Linked DNA regions of Homo sapiens: all the other regions are linked to region 5. Evidence: promoter capture Hi-C in 16 types of primary human blood cells and fetal thymus (Javierre and others, 2016). All regions are on one chromosome and are shown on one strand. The core of a region is centred on a gene start or on the middle of the fragment in contact, and the rest is flanking DNA. Distances in the headings are between cores, read along the strand shown.

Evidence for each region. Contacts are between HindIII fragments. The CHiCAGO score rates a contact against its expected background, and 5 or more counts as called.
Region 1: a fragment that was not itself captured here is called in contact with the fragment with the promoter of SNRK in region 5 in 1 of 17 cell types (neutrophils); the score reaches 6.1 in neutrophils.
Region 2: a contact is called between a fragment that was not itself captured here and the fragment with the promoter of SNRK in region 5, in 1 of 17 cell types (total CD8 T cells). The highest score is 6.3, in total CD8 T cells.
Region 3: a contact is called between a fragment that was not itself captured here and the fragment with the promoter of SNRK in region 5, in 3 of 17 cell types (neutrophils, naive CD8 T cells and total CD4 T cells). The highest score is 6.2, in neutrophils.
Region 4: a contact is called between a fragment that was not itself captured here and the fragment with the promoter of SNRK in region 5, in 1 of 17 cell types (fetal thymus). The highest score is 5.4, in fetal thymus.

What each region holds. Positions count from the first base shown.
Region 1 is chr3:43,525,613-43,530,508 of GRCh38, forward strand. All of the region lies in intron 11 of ANO10 (anoctamin 10), which reads right to left. Among named protein-coding and RNA genes, the nearest start is that of ANO10, 94 kb to the right of the region's middle. The HindIII fragment of the contact is 2,900 bases long and covers 100-2,999 here.
Region 2 is chr3:43,454,418-43,459,717 of GRCh38, forward strand. The region is part of intron 11 of ANO10 (anoctamin 10); the gene reads right to left. Among named protein-coding and RNA genes, the nearest start is that of SNRK-AS1, 110 kb to the left of the region's middle. RefSeq lists enhancers at 666-1,865, 740-1,034. The HindIII fragment of the contact is 616 bases long and covers 2,686-3,301 here.
Region 3 is chr3:43,429,026-43,433,757 of GRCh38, forward strand. It overlaps ANO10 (anoctamin 10), which reads right to left. Exons shown (of 13, transcript NM_018075.5): 12 at 3,586-3,702. Among named protein-coding and RNA genes, the nearest start is that of SNRK-AS1, 79 kb to the left of the region's middle. The HindIII fragment of the contact is 8,533 bases long and covers 1-4,732 here.
Region 4 is chr3:43,097,215-43,102,006 of GRCh38, forward strand. The region is part of intron 1 of POMGNT2 (protein O-linked mannose N-acetylglucosaminyltransferase 2 (beta 1,4-)); the gene reads right to left. Among named protein-coding and RNA genes, the nearest start is that of POMGNT2, 6.5 kb to the right of the region's middle. RefSeq lists enhancers at 262-762, 763-1,263. The HindIII fragment of the contact is 3,276 bases long and covers 1,110-4,385 here.
Region 5 is chr3:43,284,096-43,289,561 of GRCh38, forward strand. SNRK (SNF related kinase) reads left to right here and starts at 2,445. Exons shown (of 7, transcript NM_017719.5): 1 at 2,445-2,580. RefSeq lists an enhancer at 2,185-2,685 and silencers at 2,290-2,689, 2,930-2,979, 5,391-5,466. The HindIII fragment of the contact is 7,817 bases long and covers 406-5,466 here.

The DNA of each region.
Region 1 (4,896 bases), core at 300-2,799, 240 kb after region 5:
CCATAATTAGTGGGAAGAAGTAATGTAAATGGGATAGAGTTATTAGGCAGGGAAAGATGTTTTGTCTCTCTTCTTTCCTCTTTCTAAGTTCCTAAAATAAGCTTGCAAGTGGTGGTGAAGGGAGCTGATGCATTTTCAAAGAGCGGTGGCCCAGTTTTCAAATTTGTTCCTCTCCATTGTGAGTTTTCCTCCTTCTGTTTTCAATATCAAAATGCCTCAATTTATGAGAAATCTAATGACAGTTGGTCACTTCAAACCTCAGATTTTCTGGAAATCATTCCTTCTAAATCCAAGGGTCTGCTGCCACTGTAGTGTACCAACAACATCGCTCCACTTTGGATTTATTTAGTTGTTTTGCAACAGAGTCATTATTCTATCTTCAAATGACAACATTTAATATATTCTAGCATATTCACATAATATACTTAGAAAGTATTAAGTAAAAAAGTCATTAAATGCAGTACACTTAGAGAAATAAAAGCACTTGAATGATGAAAATGATGAAACCTTAAAAAGGCTGCCAACTTACTTCTTTAGTCAGGGACATGACTAACATATGGACTGTAAAATTACCTTTCCCATTTTAGATTCACTTTCAGAATTAGCAACATGTTAATTGTCCTGTGCAGCCACCAAATCTTTAAATATCTTTATATTTTATTAATCTCTCTAATCAACCATCATTTTGACAAGTTCCTCACTGGATTTAGATATGCAACATGTATGATTATTTTTGTAACACTAGAAACAGGGCCTCTGTGGAGTCTTGTGGCTCTCTGCCAGCCACGGAGAAGCGTCAGCATGCATGCCCACACGGCAACACAGAGGATTAACTGACCAGGGAAACAACTGCTAAAAGAGCACCAGAGTTGGGAAACAATTTCAACATCCTGAGACGATTGAAAATATATCAAGAGAATGTATAGTATAACATATACAGAATTTAAAGAGGCAAAACTAAATGGCAATTGATGTCAGGAAAGTGGTTATTTTGGGTTGGTGGTGACTAGGAAGAGCATGAAGGGGCTTCTGGTAAAACGTCCTATGTCTTATGAATATGTTCACTTCTTGACACTTCATTCAGCCTAACATTCATAACCAGTATCTGTATCTATGCTACACCTTAACAAGCAATTCCTTAAAATATTTTGAATATTTACTTAAGATAGCCTATAAATAATATAGAATATAGCATCTATATTCTTATTTTAGCCCTACTTTAATCAGTAACAGCAGAGGTCCCTTAAGTTCTCTTAGGGTCTAAAATAATCTCTAGTCTACTGGTTGACCTCAACAATAATGAAAAACAGTATATATTTATAAAATACACACATACATATGTGTGTGTATACATATATATACACACACACATATGGTACATACAATGGTACATATATATATATGGTACATACAATGGATGTAAAACACACACACACACACACACACACACAGCATGCTTCTATTTAGTGGCTTGGGGCAAAGTTACACAAGATTTAAATCATAGATTTATGGACTCATCTGTGTAAACTGATTTCTGGGAAAGATTTTCACATTGTGTCCAATGGCTGTTTGTATATTTATACTAATTCTATTTCAAAATGCCCCTTATCCAATTAAACTATTACAACATATCCAGCATGCTCCTTACAGATGACATATTAGAGGTTTACCATTATGTTAACAAGAATAGATTTTGTAATGAACTAGGTATAAATCAAAATAAGTATGATAATTCAAATAATATAAAATAAAATATGCTGCACACTAAACAGAAGATGAAGTACTCTTTAGTTCATATATAAATATATTTAAATTGCCTGAACACACCAAAATGAATTCAATTTTTTCTAGATATAATAACATTATTACAGAGTTCTGGGTTCTCATAGGACAATGGAGCCGTCTAAATCCAAATCTCTCCATATATACTCAAAACCAAAAACAAACAGATCAATAGGAAGAGAAGACAAACTAACCATTCCTCATACCTACAACATTAACTAGGAGATAAGCAATGGCATGAACTTCGTGTTACATGAAAATAGGGAAATAAACATCCAAATCCAGCAAGACTAGCTCCAAAGCCCACACCTAAGTGGCAAGTCAAGTCAGACACTATGAAAGAGAGGGAAATAGAGATCTAGCGATATTGGAACACAGATAAAATCACCCCCAGAAAAAGAAATTTTCACTAAGAAAAGGTCTGTGAACTGCTAGATCAGAGAGTTTCTAGAGAATCAAAAGGATAGTGCTTGAAAATGCACAGAATCAGATGTGGTAGTTTTAGGAAGGCACCATTTTGAGGGAAGGATGGGGAGGAAAGATTTACGGAAGGCTCAGGTATCTCCTGGAGGCTGAAGATTATCGGAAAGAAGAAAGCAAAAGGTAGAAATTAACAGTCCTAAAGACACAAGAACAATACTCACACCTCTCACTACCAAGAAGATACTCGTTAAAAGAAACAACATTTTACTATACCAGCAGAAAAGAGTGCTCTCAAACTAAAAAAACTCAGTAAGCTACCCAAAAACTCCTTATTCTTTCCAACAAGAGCTACTATTGCTAGTCTAGGAAAATTTCAAAATGAAAAAAACGAAAAAAAAAAGCAGATAACATCTGTACAAGGTTACTATGAAAATAAAACAGACATTGAGAATCAAAGTATTTCCATTTTTGATTTTGTTCCTCAACAACATGAAAGCAAACAAAAACCAAACAAAACATAACCAGATGAAAGTTATAACTCAATAATCAAACCTGAATTAAATAACCTTAAATAAGCATTTAAGAACATGAAAAAAAACTTCAGATAAGAAGTACAAAAACTCAGATCAAAAATATCTAACAAATGAACAAAATGGAAGATATGAAATGAAAGTGGCTAAATTCAGTAAAGAAAAGGAAGAAGAGAACAAAATCATCTTAGAAATAGTGATAAATTACAAAATGGCAAGGGGGAAACTACCCAAATGAAAATATAATAAGGGACACTGAAGAAAAGCTTGAAAAACTAAGAGGACAAAAATAAAAGAAAAATATGTGTCAAAATGAAAAAAATGACAAGGAAGACAGGCAAAGAAGATCCAACATATAGCTGGAGACTCAGAAGAAAAAAACAGCAGAACACAATATTAAAAACTGTAACTTACCAGCCTGGGCAACATGGCAAAACCCCATCTCTACAAAAAATACAAAAATCAGCTGAGCATGGTGGTGTGTGCCTGTTAGTCCCAGCTACTCAGGAGGCTGAGATGGGAGGACTGCTTCAGCCCTGAAGGTGGAGGTTGCAGTGAGCTGGACTGCATCACTGTACTCCAGCCTGGGCAACAGAGTGAGATCCTGTCTCAAAAAAAACCCACATAAACAAACAAAAAAACCCTGTAATTTAAGAAAATGTTCCAGAAACAAAAGAAAGCCTGAAACCACATTTGAAAGGGCCCATGTGTATCTGTGATCTGAACCAATCAACTCTAAGACATATGCCTATAAAATAATTACACTAATATTAAACACTTGGTCCTCCAAACAAAATGACCAAGTCACTTGCTAAAGGAAGGAAAGCAGATTCACATCAGAGTTTGACAGCAACAATGCAAGACAACAGTGGAGGGGCATTTTCAAGAAATTTCAAGAACTTTGAACCTTTTGAACCAAAGTATTTTAAAATCCAGCCAAGCTGTCCTTCAAGTATACATGTTATAGAACCTAATATGGAACTTATGTTCAAGAACTTGAGAACTCTTCTTGAGAAATCTTTTGCCACTCAAAGTGGGGTTCATGGCCCACAGCATCTATACCATTTGGGATTTTTTTAGGAGTGGGAATCTAGGCCCTGCCCAAGAGGTCCAGGTGATGAGTATGCTCATTATTGTTTGAGAACTGCTATACTGAAGAACACGTTTCATAGAACAAAGGGGAAAAGGAAAACTTTGGCAAGATGACTGATGGCAAGCAACAAAAAGATTTAAACCTATCTAGAACTAAAAAACATATATGTAAATGGTAAACATTCTGACAAAGTAGAAATAGTACAACTGAAATAATGAGAGCAGAAGAGAAAAGGGAGAAAGCAGAATACATAAATTGTCAAGTAGATAATACATAATAAAGGATATTATTTTAAACTGACAAACCAAACAGTAGAAATCTAAGTAAAAACAAAGGAAATTAGGATATTATAGAATATAAAACTATAGAGGTATAAAACTAACTTTCCTAAATACTTGCTCCCTACCAAGGAAAGAAACATGGTAAATATAACATAATACCAGAGTATATATAACATAAAATAATATGATAAAGTTGAGACCAAACATATTCTGCATCTCAATTAATGCAAATGAGCTTAAGACACTAATCAAAAGAAAAATACCTGACACTTTCTTGCAAAACTAAACCCAATTCTATGCTGTATACAAGAGACACACTTAGAGTGATTCAGAAAGGCGAAAACTGAAGATATACTAAGGAAAAATAGAAATTAAGAAGATAGGGGATGCAATCCTATTATCAAAGTGGAATTAAGGTCCAAAAGCATTAAAGAAATATTTTTATAACCTCAAAGATCACAATTAAAAATGAAAATGTAGCAGTTATAAATTCCTATGCACCAAATAACACAGTAACTACATTTATAAATCACAAACTACAACAGATGCTTTCTAACAGGAATACGCTATTGAATAGACTTTAACAACACTCTTAAACCAAAACAAGTGAACGAAAAGTAAGCAGTAATTTAAAAGATCTACACGTTATGTTTAACAGGATAGAGGTTATATAGGTTATATATTTCTTATATAAAACATATAGCCTATATATTATATATATTTTATATATGGTATATATAAACTATAAAGGTTTTCTATATATGCATACACAGATATATAATAGGTA
Region 2 (5,300 bases), core at 1,744-4,243, 170 kb after region 5:
TGAGACCAGACAAAAGCAGAAGGGTGGCCCAAGAACAGAGCCCAAGACTGTCTGGCCATCAGAGAGAGTGGGCAAGAAGCACACACAACAAAACACACACAAAAAAAGGGAGAGAGGAAGAGAGAAATGGAGGGGAGGAGACATGGAGGGAGGGAAGGAGGAAGAGATACTAAAGAAGAGTGGTCAGAAAGGCAGGAGGAAAAGCAAGTGATGTAGGGACCTGAAAATCAAATGAAAACAGTGTTTCCAGGAGAGAGGAGTCAGGTAAGGTGAGGCCTGAGAAAGGACCATGGCATTAGCAAGGTGCTGATCACCAGAGACCTTCAGAAGTGGTGTCTTGGTGGACTAATGGTTCAAAATAATATGAAAGAAGAAGAACTGGAGACAGTAAGCATGAACAATTTACACAAGTTTTGTTTAAAGACAAATGAGGCAGTAATTAGAGGGAAATGTAAGGCCAGGGTAGAAGAAATAACAGCATGTTTATGCACCGATGAGGATGATCCTATAGAAAGGGAAAAAGACAATGCAAGTGAGAGTGAGGGAGTCTCCTGGAGCCTGTGCTGGAGACATGTGAGAGAATAGAATCCAGCCCCTGAGTGTGGAGGTGTCCCTCATGGGGCGCAGATGTGGGCCATCTGCAGTGACAGGAGAAAAAGTCAAATACATGGGCACAAATGCATGCAAGTGGTGTAGCTGGCGGGAGTTTTCATGTAGTGCGCCCATTTTCTCAGTGAGGTAGGAAGCAAGGTCATGAGCCAAGAGCAAGGGAGGGAAGGAGGCACTGGAGGACTGAGGGAGGAGAAGGCATGAAACAGTCATGTGGAAGGGCAGGAGAGAGAATGACCATGGAAATACACATGCATGCCAAGCAGCATTGAGGGCTATTTGAGGTCAGTGATTAGGAATCTAAAGTGAGGCAGGCCATGAGTCAGAGGTATGACTGTGGAGGTGGGAGGCTGAGATCAGAAGGAAGACAGGTCAGTGGAGGAGAGGTCAAGGATGTCAGCAGCCATGGATGTGGAAGGAGTGACAGGTACGTGTATTAGAGAGGTTCTGCAGAGAGAGGGGGTGAGTCAGGCCCTTAAGTCCTTGAGGAATGGGGGGAAATGACCTGGGGTAAGCCAGGCTAGGTACTGTAAATCAACTAGTTAGCAGGATAGGAGGGCAGTCTTCCATCTCACAGATCCTTTCTGGGGCCAGCTAATTTAATTGTTCTGACTGGTTGATTATTTCTCCTTTCACCACCCTAAGAACCCCTCTCAAAACTTCACTGGGCTGGGCTGCATGTGTGATCTTTTCCTCAGGGTTTCTGAATAAACTACACTTAAAATTTTTCCAAACACCATCAGTCAAACAAACATTGGTTACAAACCTTTTTTTTTTCCAACAGATTCTGACACAAAGATGAATATATAAAGATATATAAAAATAAATTATAATATCCTGTGGTACATGACGCAGTATTTACTTGTTAGAGTAACATATTCCAGCACTGCTATTCTACAGCAAGTTCAATAAACAACAGGAGCAAAGACTTGCGTTAACTCTAATTTACGATGGGATAAAGAAAAGCAAAAAGAGTAACATTAAAAAACATTTAAGCACCTACTAGGTGATGAAATAATTTCTTTAAATAGAAATTGACATGCTACATTTGCCTACTCCTCAAATAACTTGGGCTGGCTCCCACCCTGGGAACCTGGGCTCAGCAGGTGAGCAGGTACGGCGGTCACCAACACCTGCACAGTCATTAGGAGGAAAGGAAAAGGACGCTACAAAAATAGAATCTTCAGACACTGCAGTGTATAATTAATGATACTCTCAGCTGCATTTTTGAGTGTCACCTTTTATACAAAATGTATATATTTTAAAGCTCCAGAAGTCCTATATTATACTGATGGCACTGAGTTTTGCCTTAAAGGTGCTAAAAATCTGCTAAACCTGGGCATTTTCTTCACCTGTGCTCTGAGGTAAGCTCTTGCACACATCCACAAAGAAGCAAACACAACGCTGTGCATCCTTATGTAGCTCTGGCTTTAGAAGCAAAGAGTTGTCCATCGGTAGGAAAATGGATAAGAAAACTTTGGTGTATTCAGAAGATGGATATCTACGTAGCAGTCAGAAGCAATGAACCAAATTCATACATAGCCACATAGACAGATATCATAAACACTGAGTGAAAAAGAATTAGAGATTCAGAGCCCAAAGCCATGCTCATTAATTACAACACACACAAACACCATAATTTAAATAAGTGAAAGGTGGAAGGGAAGGACATATATCAAATATACCATTGGTGCCTACAAAAGGGAGGGTCACAGATGCAGGAATTAATACAATTACAAAGGTGTCTGCGACATGAAGCAAAGAGTAGGATCATTTTAATTTTGTGTAATTGAGGCGGTAGTGGTCATGGGAAAAGTGGATAGCAGTGTTCTTATGAGTGAAACACAGTAAGTACGGATTTTTCATACTTACAACTTTCTTGTATTTGTTACTTGTAAATCTTGCTCCAGAGCCATCTATAATGTGCCATGACAATGCACCCAACAGTACATTACCATTCTATAAACTTAACATGTTTTGGCACAATCATTTCAATTTATGAATGGTATATAACAGAAACCAGAATAAAAATTGCCAAAAACTAAATTAGCTAATACTAAATCTAATGAAGAATAAAGCTTTGATTATGCTTTGAAATAAAGTCAGGGAGGAAACTAGATAAAAAAGACTCCTTTGGTATTGAACTTGACACTGTGGTTAATAACTTGGCACACAAAATGCCTCTTAGCAGATTGCTAAATACACATATCAAAGTTAACCCTGACAGTTAATAACCTGCTGCAGAAACATGCTTGTATTAGTCCATTTTCACACTGCTATGAAGAACTTCCCTGAGACTGGGTAATTTACAAAGGAAAGAGGTTTAACTGACTCACAGTTCTGCATGGCTGGGGAGGCCTCAGGAAACTTACAATCGTGGCAGAAGGTGAAGAGGAAGCAAGCACCTTTTTCAGAAGGCAGCAGGAGAGAGAAGGGAGCAAGAGAGGAACTATTGAAACACTTATAAAAACCACCAGATCTCATGAGAACTCACTCACTATCATGAGAACAGTATGGGGGAAACCACCCCCATGATTCAATCACCTCCCTCCCTCAACATGTGGGGATCACGGGTCCCTCCCTCAATATGTGGGAATTACAATTCAAGATGAGATTTGGGTGGGAACACAGAGCCAAACCTGCTTTACTTTAGAATACATGTATGTTTCCTATAGACTCCTAATTCATTACAAGCTTTTTGCTTGCCATCTCTAAACTACAAATTACTTTCTAAAATAAAATGAACTGCAAGGAGGAGATCAGTACCAGGTGGAAATCAAATTAACTAATGTGTTCTGAGGAGCTGCCACTTGAAATGCTCAGTGCAACATGGAGAGTTCTGCAGTGGTGTACCTGGGGCTTGAGGAGCTTGTAGTCTGATCAACCAAGATGCAAGGCCCCCAACCCATCCCCCACCCCCTACCCTGTTCCTATTCCTATAGGAGTTTGTGTGGGATCTTGGAATAATCACTTAAGTTTCTTTGTCTCCCTTTCATTGAGTGACACTGAGCTCCAGGCAACAAAGACAGTAGACAACCACATATTGGAAAAGGAGTCAGAACTCTCATTTTGTTCCTAGCTTGTTAACCTATAAAAGGGGAGATGACAATATATCCCCACTGTGCTATATATAATCTTTGTCATTTGTAAAAATTATTAAAACCCTGAAGGCTTGTTATAAATGCTGACCCCGGAGTCCTAGTCAAGAGACCCCCTGCAATGGAGACCACTGTGCAATAAGATCCTTATAGCACCCCACAGATGAATCTCCTTAAAGACAGACACACTTTATAAAAATCTGTTCTAAGAAGAAGTTTCACAAAGAATCCAGGATACCTGTTTTTTCCTTCTTGGAAGGATGTTTCTAGCAATAAGACCACCTTGCCCTGCAAAGTTTTTAAATTTAAGCTGAAATAATTTGATTTGCTCCATCAAATTCCTCCACATCCTCCTTTTACTTACCATAACAATAAAATATTCTGAAAATATTTCTACATAGGAAATATTTCTACAGGAATTCTCTTATGCATTACAAATTCCTATTAACATCAAATGAAGACACCATAGACAAGAAATGCAGAGAGCTTTCAATCTCCCATTAGGCTTAAACCGACTTCTTTTTTCTCTTTTTTACTTTAAGTTCTGGGATACATGTGCTGAACGTGCAGGTTTGTTATATAGGTATACATGTGCCATGGTGGTTTGCTGCACCTATCAACTCGTGATCTAGGTTTTAAGCTCTGCATACATTAGGGATTTGTCCTAACGCTCTCCCTCCCCTTTCCCCCTACCCCTGGACAGGCCCGGGTGTGTGATATTCCCCTCCCTGTGTCCATGTGTTCTCATTGTTCAGCTCCCACTTATGAGTGAGAATATGTGGTGTTTGGTTTTCTGTTCCTGTGTTAGTTTGCTGAGGATGATGATTAAACCTATTTCTTATACGCCACGAGCTTCCAAATCAATGTCTCTACAACAGTAAAACAAAGTCTCTGAGCCCCTTGAGTTATGTGTAACCAGGTGGAACATAAATATATGAGAAGAGAAAGGCAGCACTGTTTAATGCCATTAGGTGGGCTCTAAGAGCAATAGCTAGCTGCATGTGTCACTATCATAGGGTGGCACTTCTCAATTTTTTTTTCCTGACTCACTTTCTGTCCAACCACCACCACCCCACCTCCTGCCACTAAGTTGTTTTTATCTTTTGTTCTCTTCTTTCGGTAGCCACAACTTGCTCCAGGATTCGGTGTTGTTGAAGGAAAAGGACCAGTCAGTGCTCAGATTCCATTTCTACCTGATGCACTTCCCTAGTAAATGGAGGATAACCAAATTGAGCATCATCCAATTCAGTAAGTAACAAACAAGGTGGTATTATCAGAGAGAGGGCCACAGATAGTCTTCTGTGAAGAGGCTAAGGGTGAGGGAGGGCTTGCTGGCAATGAAACAAGGTTTCAGAGGTCTCACAGAAATATCTGCCAGTAGAAGAATGACTTGTGGAGAGGAAGGTCCAAGTGCGGAGTGAGGAGAACATGGCCAAGAGGTGACATGGCTAAGAGGCATGATGGAGCTGCCAGTTTCTCAGTGGGACCCTCCTGAGGAAGGTGCTTCCCACTGGCCCAGAGCTAGTGAGTGCTTCCTGCCAGTGCCTGTCTGGAGCTTCTGCTCAGGCCTCCAACCATTCAAGGGGGAAAGTG
Region 3 (4,732 bases), core at 1,549-4,048, 150 kb after region 5:
GGAATTAGAGCTTTGCCTCACTGTCAGGTAAAGTGTACCTGAAGATATGGGAATCTAAGAGCTAAGATGACTTGAGAGGTCATTTAGCCATATCCATAGTAAACACATATCCATGACACCCTCAATGGCAAATATAACACTCCTGCATTTGGAGTTTTAGGTAAATGTATTTAGTAACATGAGACATACTAATAATATGTTGAATTTGGTGGTGGTGAGGGAGGTTCATAGGGAATGAGGTATAATTTCATTCTCTCAAGAAGAATCCTTTCCTTTTTAGACAAACAAGTAGTAACATGAAATCCTGAGTGATTTTTTCAAAATATCTTTTTTAAAAAAGCAAATTCATGGAATTTTATGGTATATACAGACCATAAAATTTACTGTATAGATATACCACGAAATCCTGAGTAACATGAAGCATGATTCTTCCTAGACCTGGAGTTAAGATATGTATGCACCAGCCAGGAAGTTGCCTGCCCCCATCTACAAAATGTCACCAGAAATGCAATCAATGGAGAAATCTGATTAACTAAAACTCTTCCAGAGACAAGGCTGTACATTCAGCTTTTTTTCTTACATACCTCATAAAGTTTTTAGATGCTTTATGCCCTCTCACGCATTTTTAAACTGACACCTAAAATCTTTTAGTCATAAATTCAATAGCTGCAAAAATGTAGGCAGTGTGTATGTGCATGCATAAGCATAGACAGATCTTTTTTAAAAAAGCAGGTTACTGGAATTTTATTGTATAGATATACAATAATTTACTTAACCATTCTCCTATTGAGGAATTTAGTTATCTCCAGATTTTTGCTAATAAAAATGTTTCAATGACTAAATTTTGGTACTCTTTTCAGATACAACCATTACCCTAGTAAGGTTTGTTTGGTGTTGGAGAGTAATTGAAATTAAATTCAACTGCAATTCGAGGAAGACTGAACCAATTTACACTTCTGTCAGTTATATATAAAAGAATGTCCATTTCCCAAATCCAGTGAGGACAGGCTATCATGACATAATCCAATAGAACATGCGAAATGTGGTATTTCACTGGTGTTTAAATTTATATTTCTTTCATTTTGAATGAGGTTGAGCATCTCTTCATATGCTTTCCTTTCATTACTGGACTGTCATTTTTTATAGATTTGTGGAAATTATTTTTTGAATTAAAGATATTGACTTTGTTATATATGAAAATATTTTTCCAGTTTGTCCAATTTATCTTTTGAGTTTGCTTATTTTTTGTCATACAGAAGTTTTCATTTTTCATGTATTTTACTTTATCTTTTTTTTTTTAATGATTTTTGGGTTTTGTGTCTTGATTAGGAAGGCATTTCCCACTAAAAGATACACCCAGACTTTTAATAGACTTCTTATGGTTTACATTTTTTACATTTAAATCTGTCAACCTTGAATTTTGTGGTGGTGGGGAGGTTCATAAGGAATGAGTTAAAATAAAGTATAATAATTTTCCCAAACAGCTGTTTGCCATCAAACTGTGTAACAAATAATCCTTCTTTTTTCCATTGACATAAAATATCACTTTTACCATAAATGAAATCCCCAGTTTTATTTGGGCCCATTTATGGACTCAATGCTCTCTATTCCACTGATTTTTCCATTTCTTCCCTAATTTAAAATGTATTTAATTATAATTATTGTACTATTCAGAATACATTTTAATATCTGACAAGAGTGAGAGTCCCCATTTTTCTTCTTTATCAGAAGTTTCCTTGCTATTCTCAGATGTTTATTTTGATATATTTGAATTGGTATTGGATATTTACAAGATTGAATCTTTTGATCCCAGTAAAGTTTAAAAAAAATTGTTCTATAAGTTATCTATATTGTTTCCATAAATTACCACCTAAGTTTTTACATTTTGGTTTCTTCTGTAAATGTGAATTTTTCATCAAAAATATTTTCAAACTGATTATTTCTTGTGAAAAGAAACACGATTTTAGATAAACTTTGTAACTTGCTTCCTTACCAAATTTTTTTATTTTTAATAATTTATTTTTAGCTATATAATCCTCTAATTTTCTTTTCTTTTTTTTTTTTTGAGACAAGGTCTCACTCTGTTACCCAGGCGGGAGTGCAGTGGCATGATCATGGCTCATTACAGCCTTGACCTTCTAGGCTCAAGCAATTCTCCCAGCTCAGCCTCCCAAGTAGCTGTTACTACAAGCGTGCACCACCATGCCTGGCTAATTTTTGTATTTTTTGTAGAGACGGGATTTCACCACGTTGCCCAGGTTGGTCTTAAACTCCTGGGCTCAAGGGATCTACCCACCTCAGCCTCCCAAAGTGCTGGGATTACAGGTGTGAGCCACTGCACCCAGCCTAATCCTCTGATTTTCAAGTAATGATAATCTTGCCTCTTCTACTTGAACTTATCTCTTCCTCTTATACAACTGCTTTGGTTAGTACCTCTAGAAGAATGCTAGCTGTCAGTGATGATGATGGATTTTCTGCCATTGCTGGGAATGCTCTGGAGTTTCATTATTGGGCATGATGCTGGGTTCCGGTTTACCATATAGACACACTGGCTAGCCCACATGCCAAAAGTGAACTTGCCCAACCTCTAGGAATGCAGGTAACTTAGTCTTGTCACCTACTGTGTGGCAAACATGAGCACAGCTATGGCTAGTGGGCCTGGGTTCATCCTCTTTTCCACATTCTTATCACAAGTCCTCTTCTGGAGTCACCCTGCCTCATCAGGGCAAGTATTGGTTTGATGTGGGGTTCTCCTGTCCGGCGCACTACCCTTGGAGCCCTCAGGCTTTGATCAAAGGGTCATCTTAGGTGGGTCCTCTTCACGTTCTTTTTTTCTCCCCACTCCCCAAATGTAAGAAGAAATATTTCTATGCATAGTGGTTTGGAGGCCAAAGAAGGAGTATGTGTCCAGGAGGTTCTGCCCAGAGCTTGTCCCCTCAGATGGCAATGCCTTACTGATTCTCTCATTTCTTAAATTCCTATGCAGCACTAAAGATAACAAGTGAGAGATACTCCAGGTGTCTAGGGATCTTCTGTCTACTCCCACTCTCCTACAAGCAGAAAATCACCAAAATGGTCAACTCCAGCATGGCTTTTTTTTTTTTTTTTTGTAGTCTCTGGTAGAATGTGGAAGTCACTGAGGCACAGTTTCTCCTTTCAGGGCAATTTTGCTGCTTCTACACACCTGATCTCATTCTGTCTCGCTCTCTGAAAGCTATTATTCAGGATTTTATTCATTCACTTCTCCTCACTTAATGTTTCAGTAGATGGCAAAACTGGAAGCTGTGGGGAGCTGCCCCAGGTTGATTCTTAGATGTCTGTCTTGTTCTTTTGCTGAATGCTAGCTCTATTCTTTATTTAACATTGCCTGAATATTTTTGTTTCTTTAGTTTAGTTATTTAAACCTATTTGTTGCTCATATTGTTAGGATTTTGGTTTTGTTATGTCATCCTGAACTGGAGTCCTCTGTATTCATTTAAACTGGTAACTTCAAGGCTGAAAAAAATGCTGAGACTGATTCTTCTGAATTATTTTTCCTGTCATTTGCTAAAGCAATACATACATTTTCAGGACAGCTGCTCTCACCTGCTGCTTGAGTGCCTCCAAAGACTCAAATTCCAGTCTGGCTAGTTTCATCTGGATATGCCGTGGCTTATCAGGTATGGCAAATGCAAGTATAAACTTTAAAGCCAGGAGTGCGTGCTGAAAACAAGAAAGAGTACATGTTGATGTGATACATCAGACCATATATGCAAGGAAATAAATTGATATCTAAGCAATCTAGGATTATTTATATTAATCTTGGGTAATTTCTAAGTATTGGCCTGTGAAGTATCAAAGACCAAGCAGGCCCATGAGTTGTACTGAGTGAGTCCACCCTGTTGTGGTACATTCAGTAATTACTGACTTTGCTTAATTCTTTTTTTTTTTTTTTTTTTTTTTTTTTTTTGAGACCGAGTTTCATTCTGTTGCCCAGGCTAGAGGAGTGCAGTGGCACGATCTTGGCTCACTGTAACCTCTGCCTCCCAGTTTCAAGTGATTCTCCTGCCTCAGCCTCCCGAGTGCACCATCACACCTAACTAATTTTTTTTGTATTTTTTAGTAGAGACGGGGGTTTCACCATGTTGGTCAGACTGGTCTCAAACTCCTGACCTCAGGTGATCCACCCACCTTGGCCTCCCAAAGTGCCGGGATTACAGGTGTTGAGCGACCACACCCAGCCAACTTTATTCTTTTTAAAACCAGGTATTCCTGTAAACTGATACCGTAAGGGTACCCTCAATGTTTTATAGAAAAATGGCTTATTCTGAAGTCTTCCACAAACTCTTTTCTAGAAACGCATCTTAGTATACAATATTTGTTGTCACTCCACTCTCTGCCCAATGTCCCTGTGCTGCACTTCAGTTTGAGTTACATGAAACGTACATGTATCTTAAAAATAAGGTGTCATGAATCCTCTAATCCCATAGCATTTGGTGCATTTTCTTTTATGATGTGATAATAAATAAAGATTAATTCAATGATTGTAACTTTATGCTGCTGACTCCATATATGGTAAGTACACAGACATTATAATATGGAAAACTTAAAACCTGGCTATTATTTTTCCTTCTCACACAAGCATCATAAAGAAGTCCTCTATAACATAATGATATGAGATGTATAATTAAGCCAATGGTATTGCTTCCCTTGGTAATCCCGCTGTTCAGATGTATAGGCTCAACCTACTGAT
Region 4 (4,792 bases), core at 1,498-3,997, 190 kb before region 5:
GCTAGGGCCGGAGCCAATGGAGAAAGTAAAGCTGAGGGTGGGCTGTGTGACCTGGAGACAGAACACCTAATGCCAGCTGATGAGAGAATGGCGGGAAAGCAGCCTGGTGGTACCTATCTGTATCAGTCTGCTTGGGCTCCCATAACAGAATACCAGACTGAGTGCCTTAAATGACAGAATTTTCTCACAGATCTGTCAGGGTTGGTTTCTGGTGAGGCTTCTCTTCCTGGCTTGTAGATGGCCTCTTCTCTGTGTGGTGGGGAGGGAGGAGAGGGGCAGGTGAGCAAGGGGGAAAGGGAGGGAGAAAGGAAGCCGGGAGAGGGAGGTGGGGAGAGAGAGAAACACTCTGATCTCTTTTCCTCTTCTTATAAGGACACCAGTCCTATCAGATTAGGGCCCCACCCTTATGACCTCATTTAAGCTTCATTATTAGGATGATCTATCTCTAAACACAATCACAGGGGGGTTAGATCTTCAACATATAAATGGGGGGAACATGATTCAGTCCATAGCAATACTCTTCTGATTTTCCCAGAGAAGCAAAAATCTATTTAAAATGTGAAATGTCCTCATTTGTAACTTCTGGCAATTATTCAAATTGAGTGAAGACAACGTGCACCAAGGCCTGGGGCTGCTGGCCTCATGGTTGCCAGTTAAAAACGGATGCTCATTTGCAAGCTCTGGTCTAAAGCAAATCCCCTGTCCTGCTGGCCTCACCATGGCCTGTGCCCGGGTTCCCAGTTTTGTGACTGCCAGAACCAGCAGCTCACCGGTCACTCCTCCACAAGAAGGGTTACAGAGGTGGAGGGACCAGACAGCCAGCACCTGCCAGACCCAGGCTGCAGAAGATCAGGCAGGGCCCAGGCCAGGAGGGGGTCAGCAACGGTGCAGAAGGTTTTATATTTTACTTTCACAGCAATTTGACTTTTAAGGATTGTTCACACTTCCAATTGAAAATTATAGAAATCTTATTTTGTCACTGAAAAGTGTTTTTGTCCTAAATGCAGCCTGAAGTACTAGTGCTAGATTGTGGAAGCTTTCAGTCCTGTATTGATTTGTTGTCTTACATGTTGTAAATTAGTAAGGAGTAAACATGTTTCACTAACTCAAGCTTATCCTCAGAATGATCTCTTTCCCCCTCCTTTTTTTTTGGTTATCTGAAGTAGTATATGGAACTGGTATTAATAACATAATGCTTACATTTGCTCCTAAATTAAATATTAACCTAATGCTATTGATAAATTCGGCATTTATAGATCAGGTTTTCTGACCAAGGTATTTATCCTTTGGCAAAATCTTGGCAGTCTGAGTGGTTCTTGTAAAACTTAACACATTTAATTATCAAGGCATATTTAACATTTAGTTAAGGGCTCACTTTCTTAGATTAAAACTTTGACATGGGTAGTATCTTCTTGCTTTAGAATAAAGAGCAAAGCAAAGTCAAAGCTGGAGACATTAATCCACCATCAATAGCTGATGACTGTGACTATATTGCCTTATCAATAGAAAAGGAACCCCTTCAAAGCAGGAAAAACTCCAACAGAATTCAAGTCTGTACTACTTTGGTGAGAAGGGTGATGTCAGTCTTTGCTGAGGATAAACCAAGGCTTGAGTGTGGGGCAGGACGTTCGGCCTTCCACCAGCTCATATGCAACCCTCTCACCGGTTTTCAGCCTCCAAATAACGCAGAAACCTTTGCTTGCCACACAGCCTGCCGTGTCATCTGGCTTTTGCTTAGCACAAATGGGTCACCTGGAAGTGACATGTGCCTGTATTGGTCCTCTCTGGCATCACTGTGTACCAGTGTGGTCATAAACGGGGATGAAACAGGGAACAGAACGGTGGGAACCTCTGTTGTGTGGCTCACAAAGGTAATGGAGAACACGCCTACACCAGGTTTTCTAGGTGGAACTACAAAATCAAATGAAAACAATTCTTACAGGGAATGCTCAGACCCCAGTGTGTACACAAATCCAGATGGACCCTCAGGCCCAATTTGAGAGGGTTGAACTGATCAAGAGAGCCAAAAACACCCAGTATAGGAAGCATAAAACATTCACAAAGAAACACGAGGAAGTGTGCACAACAAGAGATCATCCAGGGAAGCTGGCTGGAGGGTGGGTGAGTTTTGAGCAAGTTTTTGGAGGTGTTTTGGTGGTGATGGAGGATAAGATGAGCATCTCTGTTATGTGTCTACATGTCCCAATTACTCATGACTGCTACAAATCTGTCTGCAGCAAGCATCACTGTCTAGTTCTCACAAATGTCCAGCAAACCATGAGGCCTCCAAGCCATGGGCAGTGATGGCCAGGCCCAAAGCCATGTGCAGTTCAGTGGGCACTGCATACCCAGACAGGTAAAGGTCGGGGAGCCCAGGCTGTGGGGCAGGCACAGAAGTGCCAGGGAAGGCAGGAGATAAAGCTGCCAGGAGACCTGGGTTTCAACAGTAGAGCCCTATGGGCTCAGGTGACTACTTGCAAAGCCTTCTGCAGGGTGACGCTTTATGGCAGCCAGGTCCCTGCCAGATACCCAGGGACCCTGAGATCCCACATCAGCAAGCAGAAGGAGGTGACAGAATTAGGCTGAGTTTTCCTTTGGTCTCATTACCACCATGTCACCCTCAACTCCTCCCTTTCCTAATAATAATGATATTATCATAGCTAAGATCTACTGGCCAATCACTAGGTGCCAGATTCTTCACTTTGCAATGATAATCTTTATTTTATAGATGGTAAAAATCAAAGCTCAGAAAGGTTAGAAAGCCAAGTTTACAGAGGAAGCAATGATAAGACTAACCCAGGTAGGCTGGCTACAGGGTCTGCGATCTCCTTCTTTTTATCTGGAAATAATTTTAAATTTACAAAAAAAGTTGCATGTATAGGACAAAGAACTCTCCTACACTCTTACCCAGATTCACCAACTGCTAATTTGACATCTTTGTTTAATCATTCTCTCTATATGCAGTCAGCCCTCTATATCTGCAGGTTCTGCATATGTGACTTCAACCAACTGTGGATCAAAAATATTCAAAAAAAACTTAAAAATACAAAAAAAGTATCAATTTAAAAACAATATAGTATAACAACTATTTACATAGCATTTACATTGTATTAGGTATTATAAAGAATTTAGAGATGACTTAAAGTATACAGGAGGATTGTGTAGGTTATATGCAAATAATGACACCATTTTATAACAGGCACTTGAGCATCCTTGGATTCTGGTATCTGTGGGGGATCCCGGAACAAGTCTCCCTGAGGAGGGCAACTGTATACAAATTCTCTCTCTTTTCTGAATCATTTGTAAATAAGTTGAAGAAATCAGGCCCCTTTAGCACTCAATACTTTAGCATGTATTTTCTAAGAATGAAAACATTCTCTCACACCACAAAAATTAACGAAATGAATATTGATACTATAATGACAATGATATTATTATTAACATATGGTTTCTATTTTCTGGTCCAGAATCCAGTCCAGGATGAAGCATGGTATCCAGTTATCACCGCTCTCTAGTCCCTTCCGATCTGGGGTAGCTTCTCAGTCTATCTTCAACTTATGATCTTGACAATTTTTAAGAGTCAGGGCCAGCTATTTTCTAGTATATTCCTCAATGTCTGATGTTTTCTCATGATTAGGTTCAGGTTATGCATTTTCGTGAGGAATTAGAGTCTGTACAATTAGTCATTAATACAACCCCACCCTATGTGAGTCTTTCTGGGACACTCACCTTGGGGCAGCCAGGATGAGGAAGGACTGAGAACCCCTATACTGTGTAGGATGCTAGAAGGAGTAGGGCCACTTTACTGGAGAAAAGAAGCCCCTGCACCCATGGTGTCTTCAAATACCTGAGTTGCTGCACAAGAGTGAGGCTGCTCCTGAGGAGTGGATGCAACCCCTTCTACCTGACTGGACACACATGCATGATGGTGACACGTGCAACCCAAGCCCTAGGCACAAGTGTGGACTATGGGCACATATGATTCCCATTCTGTCCTGCCCAGCACAGCTGTGCCAGCTGCTCAGGGACCTAGAGTAAGAACTGCAAAAAGAAGTCATGGGGAGGTGGAGCTCAGCATGGTCAGTTGGAGGAAGACTTTCCTAAAGACTAGAGCTGTTTGAGCATGGAGGAATCAGCTACTTTGTAGGGCAGTGAGCCCCTGCCTGGAAGTGGTCTAGCAAAAAACAAAAACAACCCATGTGGACTACTCCACAGCGGGGATAGGGCTGGCCATGGTGTCTTCCAAAGCAGGACTCAGTGGATCCGTGGACCTGTTGTAGCAGTATCACCTGGGATCTGAGAAATGCAGAATCCTGGGCCCCACTTCAGACCTGCAGAACCAGAATCTCTCTGAGATGAGGACCCAGGAACTTGTGTCTTAATAAAGCTTCCAGGTGATTCTTGCGTGTGCACAATACTGAGGGGAACTGCTCTGAGGTTCTTCTAACATTTCACAATTTTGCGATACTCAGCAAGGCATTTCTATCTAGCCCAGGTTAAACAACTAATTCAATTGAGAATAACCCTCCCCATAAGTATCAGTAAAGGCTAAATAAATTCTGTTCCTACCTTTTGCTAAGATGATGCATAAGCCTAAGCTCTGGGACAATCTGAGAAGTCCGCCAGACTCTAAGCTCCCTTTTGAGACAAGTTGCCCCAACCCATTCCTTCCCACACAAAGTGCACCATTTGTGGTGTGGGAGTGGCAAGAAACGAGTCCAGGTCTCTTGGCCACAGCTAAATGGACTAAGGATGGAGTCTGGGTCTAAAGCAGCCACCAGTAGAGGACATA
Region 5 (5,466 bases), core at 1,195-3,694:
TAAATGTATGAAATAACTAGTTAAATATGTAAAAGGGAATGTTGTTAAATAAAATGTCACAACTCAAAATTGAACTGTGTATGAATATTCAATGTCTGTTGTTTTAAATACATTTATTTTAAAATTTGAAATAAATTACAAAAACTAACAATATCCAGAGAAGATAACCTTGTTACATATGCTGCTTTTGGGGTTCCAAAGATGAAAATGACAATTCTTTCATCAGTCTGCTCAATTTTCACATTTTGATCTAATTTGTGGCACCTCCCTGGTTTCCTTCCAATAAACAACATCTTCCTTAAACTGGTGGCATTATGTTATTTTTGAGATCTGAATCACAGAGACTGTAATACAAGCAAGCATGCTTCATCTTGTCGTTTTGTAGAATGCTGTACATCTAATTAAAGCTTCTTACAGGTCCATAAAAAGACCCAACATTAAAAAAGCAGTGTGTTGGAGAAAGCCCCAGGGCAGAGTGGAAAAGGAGTTTCTTCATTAACTATAAGCACATTTGCTTAAATTCCAACTTAAGTAATACTATTAATTTGTACTTGAATATCTTAAAATATTGCCGAAGCATAATCAAATCATGTCACCACATTTATGGTGTGGAACCAAAACTGGGTCATATTCTTGCCAGCAGCACTTCAGCTACCCAAGAAATACTGGGGATGAATAAATGATTTACCATGTGGCCAGTACTGCGTCCTTCTCTAGAAGAGTATTGCAGCCAACTTCATTTAAATCAATTTATTATTTTGCCCTTTTTCATTTGTTTTGCTCTTTTATGCCTTGTTTTCCTTAGAAAATTTATTCAAAACCTAGTTAAACAGCAGCAATATAAATACTTTATTTTTCAAGAGCTTATATATTATCGTCATTGTTCTGTAGTTACTGATATAACTCAGGGACTACAGACCCAGGGGTGGAGGCCTTCGACCACTGGAAATCCCTTGGGAGACCATTACAGTGGTATTTTCTCCCTTTAGTTGGCTACAGAGTTCCCTGAATAGTGATATCTCCCTGAGGAGAAAAGTGCATGGTCTTCCTGATTTCTAGCAACAAAAGGACAAATTCTACAAATCCAAGTTAGGAGCTCTTGCTTAATATGCTGCTACAGTTACGATTTCCATGTCAAAATGAGATGACTCTTTTATGGTCTTTTCAGGTCAGAGTGATCCCAGGTGGGACCCTAAGGCGCAGAGGCCTAATCTGAGGCTTTCCCTGGTGCTCTCCCACCACCTGATGCAAGGGTATTAGGGTAACTGGGAGTCCCCTTGATCAGAAAACCCTATGTTATTACCCTAAGAATCAAACTGTTTGCACCTCCCAACAATCCACTCCTGCTTCCCAATCATCTTCAGACATGCAAAGTTGATGCATAGAAGCTAAAAGGCTTTTGACATTTGCAGGTCAACAGAGATTTGCTAAAACCATCTAGATTTCTCTTCGCAGTCCAGTCAATTCAACCAAGCCTGCAGCATCTCCGCAGCTCTTCTGGCTTGTGTCCTTCCTTGCTAGGGGTCCTTTCTTGGGGAAGGGTGGACACAACGTGGGAACAGAAGGGGAAAAGCAGGTTGAAGAAATCTGGCGTCTGGTTTGTTGGTGTTCCCTTCCAGGAACCCTGAAGAGCTGGTCTCTATTGCATGCCATGCTTCCAGGGGTGGGAGTCGGGAGTCCCCTCCCACCCTCTGCGGCCATCCCTAAGCTCCCTTCCAGAGCAACCTGGCCTGGCGACCATACCACTGAACCATCAAGGGCTATGGTTAATGCCCGGCGTGTTTTGAATCTCTGACTTCACGTGCTTTGATGTGTCCCCACGACCGTTTACTTTTCTATGCTGTTGCCAGAGGCTGCCTAGCAGGGCCTGTGTCTCCCGCTGACCTTTAAGGCCAGCACTGCATTCAGATGTTGGGCTTTTCCAATTTTGCTTAAATAACAACAAAATCAACCGAATTTTTTCAAATTAGAGTCCCAGGGAGAAGAAACTACAGAGAAAAAAATCATATTATGTATATATATGTATATACATATGTGCATGTGTGTATGTATATGTATTTTTACAATTTTTTTATCCTTGTTTAAACCTGGGCGGGAACCAAAGAGTAAAGCGCGTGCGGCTCCCTGCCCCCTGCCGCCAAGACGCAGTCCTGTACAGACGCGGTCCCTTCCCTCCGATTTCCCCTGACAGCTCGCGCTACTTTTTCCCGGCCATTGTTCCGTGTCCCTGGTGCTTCCTCCTCCCCCGTCCTCCATCCTCCTTGGGCGCCTTGCCCGCTTTGTCCCGCCAGCCGCCTCAGCCCCGACTCGCCGGGGTCAGAAAGCCGCCAGGATGCCCTCCAGCAGCCCGCGCGCCGGCCGCAGGTGCGCGCCGCCCCGCCCTGCCCTTCCCGCGGCCCCGCCCCAGCGCTGACGTCACAGTGACGCGCAGCCCGCGCAGGCGCAGCTACCCGGCACCCCCTCCCCGCGGCCGGCAGCCCGCTCGGTATTATGATTAGCGCTGGGTGCGGGGTTTCGGCGGCCGGGAGGGAGTTGTCGGCGCCGCGGCCGCTGCGGACGGACGCTCGCCTGCCGGCTGAGGTAGGGGCGAGCGCGGAGCGCGGCGGGGCGCGGCGGCCGTAGGCAGGGGTGCGGGGCCGGCCTCCGCCGCCTCAGTAGCCTCCGCTGTTGCCGGGCTGGGCGCCCGGGCCGGGGCGCTCGCCGCAGGCGGAAAGTAAGTTGCGCTCTCGGCGCCGGCCGCAGCGCGCGGCCCGGGAGGACGCGGGGCCCGGGCTGCGGTGGCCCGGACCCCGCGGCGCGGCCTGGCGGCGGGGCGGCGGCGGGGCCCGGCGGGAGCCGTCACTGCGGCGGCGGCCGCGGTCGCCTGGAGGCCCTGCCCTTGCGGCCGCGGCGGGATTGCGGCACCTCGGAAGGCGCCCGCATCCCCGCGCCCCGCCCCGGAGCGGGCCGAGTGCGGCGCCCGCGGGGCCCCGCGCCCTGGGCGCTTGGTAGGGTGTGTGTTCTTTGAATGCGTTTTCCCCTTTCAGAAGACTGTAGAAATCCGGCCTCAGCAAAAGGGTTCCGTGGTCAAACTGCTTTACAATAGAGTGGGGATGTTGTCTGTAGAGAAAGGGCAAAGGGGTAAGGAAAGAGGAGCAGTGCCATTCCCGAGGGAGAGCTAGAATTTTTGCAGACTGGGAGACTGGGAAATCTACGTTCTTTTCCATAGTCATCGCCTGTTGATTTCTTTCTGGTCCATTTTACAGGGACCTTCCTGCCTTTTACTTGGACTTGGGTTGCAGGAAAGTGGCAGCCTTTTATCTTCGGGGTTCTTGGAGCTGTGCTATTTGTAACTGTTGGATCGCATACAGTCCAGTAGTTTCATAGGGAGTTTCAGGCTTTGGGGAGAATTTAGCAGTGGAGTTCCTAAATCTATAGAGGTCTGAGGATATGGGACCTTTCAAACTGTCATGTTACTTTCCACCCCCCTTCCCTTTAATTATGTGCATTCTTAAAGTCTTAGGAACCGTGGTAAAGTTGACTTAATGCCTTAAACATTTTGTCAGGTTTTAAGGTGAAGCATGGCTTGCAAGTGTTGGACATCCTGTTGAATCTCCACCAAGTTCCTATCAAACATGAAATGCCTGAGTTTGGGCTCCTTGTATGGGATTGGAGCACTATGTCCCAAACCAGTCTTTAACTTATCAGAATATATACAGCAGTGTACTTTAAAGCCCGGGTTGTCAAGGCTTATGTAATCAGTTTGTTAATTTATAATCTCGTTACATTGCTTTCCAGATTTATAAAATAATTCCCTTAAGGAAATCTGTCCTCAACGTCTGCTTAAATATTTCTCTTGGAATTGGATTCTTGAAGAGGAATGTACTGTACAAGTGATGATTAAAGCATACTAATTAGACAAGTTTCTTTTTTTAAAGAACACCAAATACCAAATTTTTAATCTGATTATCTGTGTAATTGTCCTTGAGAGGAGAACAGGTGGACATTCCCATTTTACAGAACTAGAAATGAGAGAAATTACATGACATTTCCAAGGTCACATATTGAAGCAGTGTAGAAAGTCAGGTGCACAGTGCTAACTTTTTATAATACTCTCATCCTGAAGGCTTTTCAGGCAGGAAACTTTCAGTGCCACCTTTCAATTTTTTTTTAAATTTGTATAATCAGTTTTTAATTGTTCATTTTGTGCACAAAAATTACTCTCACCGTATTTTTTAATAATTCTGAGTATTTTTTTCTGTTTTACTGCAGTAAGATCCATTAGTCTAAAACATGCTAGAACTCAGAAGTTGTACTAATTTTATTTTTCTAGACCAGAAGTATAGGTTGGGTCTTTATGGTTTAGATTTAATCACATAATCCTAAAAGAAAGGCTTTTAAATGTCCTTATTAAAATTGAAGGGCTTTCGTGATATTTTTACTGGTCACAGGAAATACTGTTCATCTGAACTTCACTGTGAGTACTTCCCTCATACAGAAAGTGAAACCAAATAGAAAAATATTTATTTCTGGAGATACTGAGCAGCCATGGTTCTAAGTACTGGTATAAATAAGACATGATTTCTTCCCTGTAGCAGCTTGTCTAATCCTAAGAGCTCTTTACACTGCCCAAGAAGAAAAGGGTACAAATGAACTTTCCATAGGCCAGAATCTTAGGAATTAAAAACCGTAGATGAGAAACTCTAGACTTAATGTAACTGCATCCCAGCTGTTTGCTTAAAGATAGAGTGTTTATAACTAAGATGCTTTAGTAAGAAAACTGTTATTCAGAATTTAGGTATTTCCCAGTGTGTATCTATGTGCAGGTAAACTTAGAACAACTTAGGTGGAAAAATTGAGTGGATCCTAGCAGTTCTGAAGATAAACTTAACCTTTGATCATTTATTCATGGAATGTTTGTGTGTCTCTTTTGGTGGCCCTAGGGTAGAGGGAGGGCAGCAGTAGAAAAGTGAATAAAAACCAGTTCCTGACTGTAGGTTCTTAGAAGCTACTGGGGAACACCAAGGTAAACAGTAACAGTACGAACAGATGAACTGTGGTGAGGCATAGGGAAAAACCTGCAGAAGCACAAGGATGGCGGCAGTGAACAACCTGACATGGAAATGCTTCACAGAGGAGGTGATGGTTAAACTGGTCTTGAAGAATAGGAAGAATTCCCAGGCAGAGAAAAAGGGAAAAGGCTCAGGGGGTTCAGGGAGGGTGAGAAGACAAGGTCAAGTGGTGGGTGGGAGAAGAACATAGATCCAAGTGGGTGAAAGGGAGTTGAGAAGGCTGAGACAATGCAACTGTTCTTTCCTTAAAGCATTTGAAAAGGAAGGAGGGAAATGGGGCAGTTGCTTTGGGGGATGGAGGAGAAGGATTTTGGTGAGGTGTTTGTTTTGTTTTGTTTTAACTTTGGGAAGAGCTGGTATAAAATTCCTCAGATTTAATGGCCTCACGAGTGAGCACTGGAACTGTGTTGTCTGC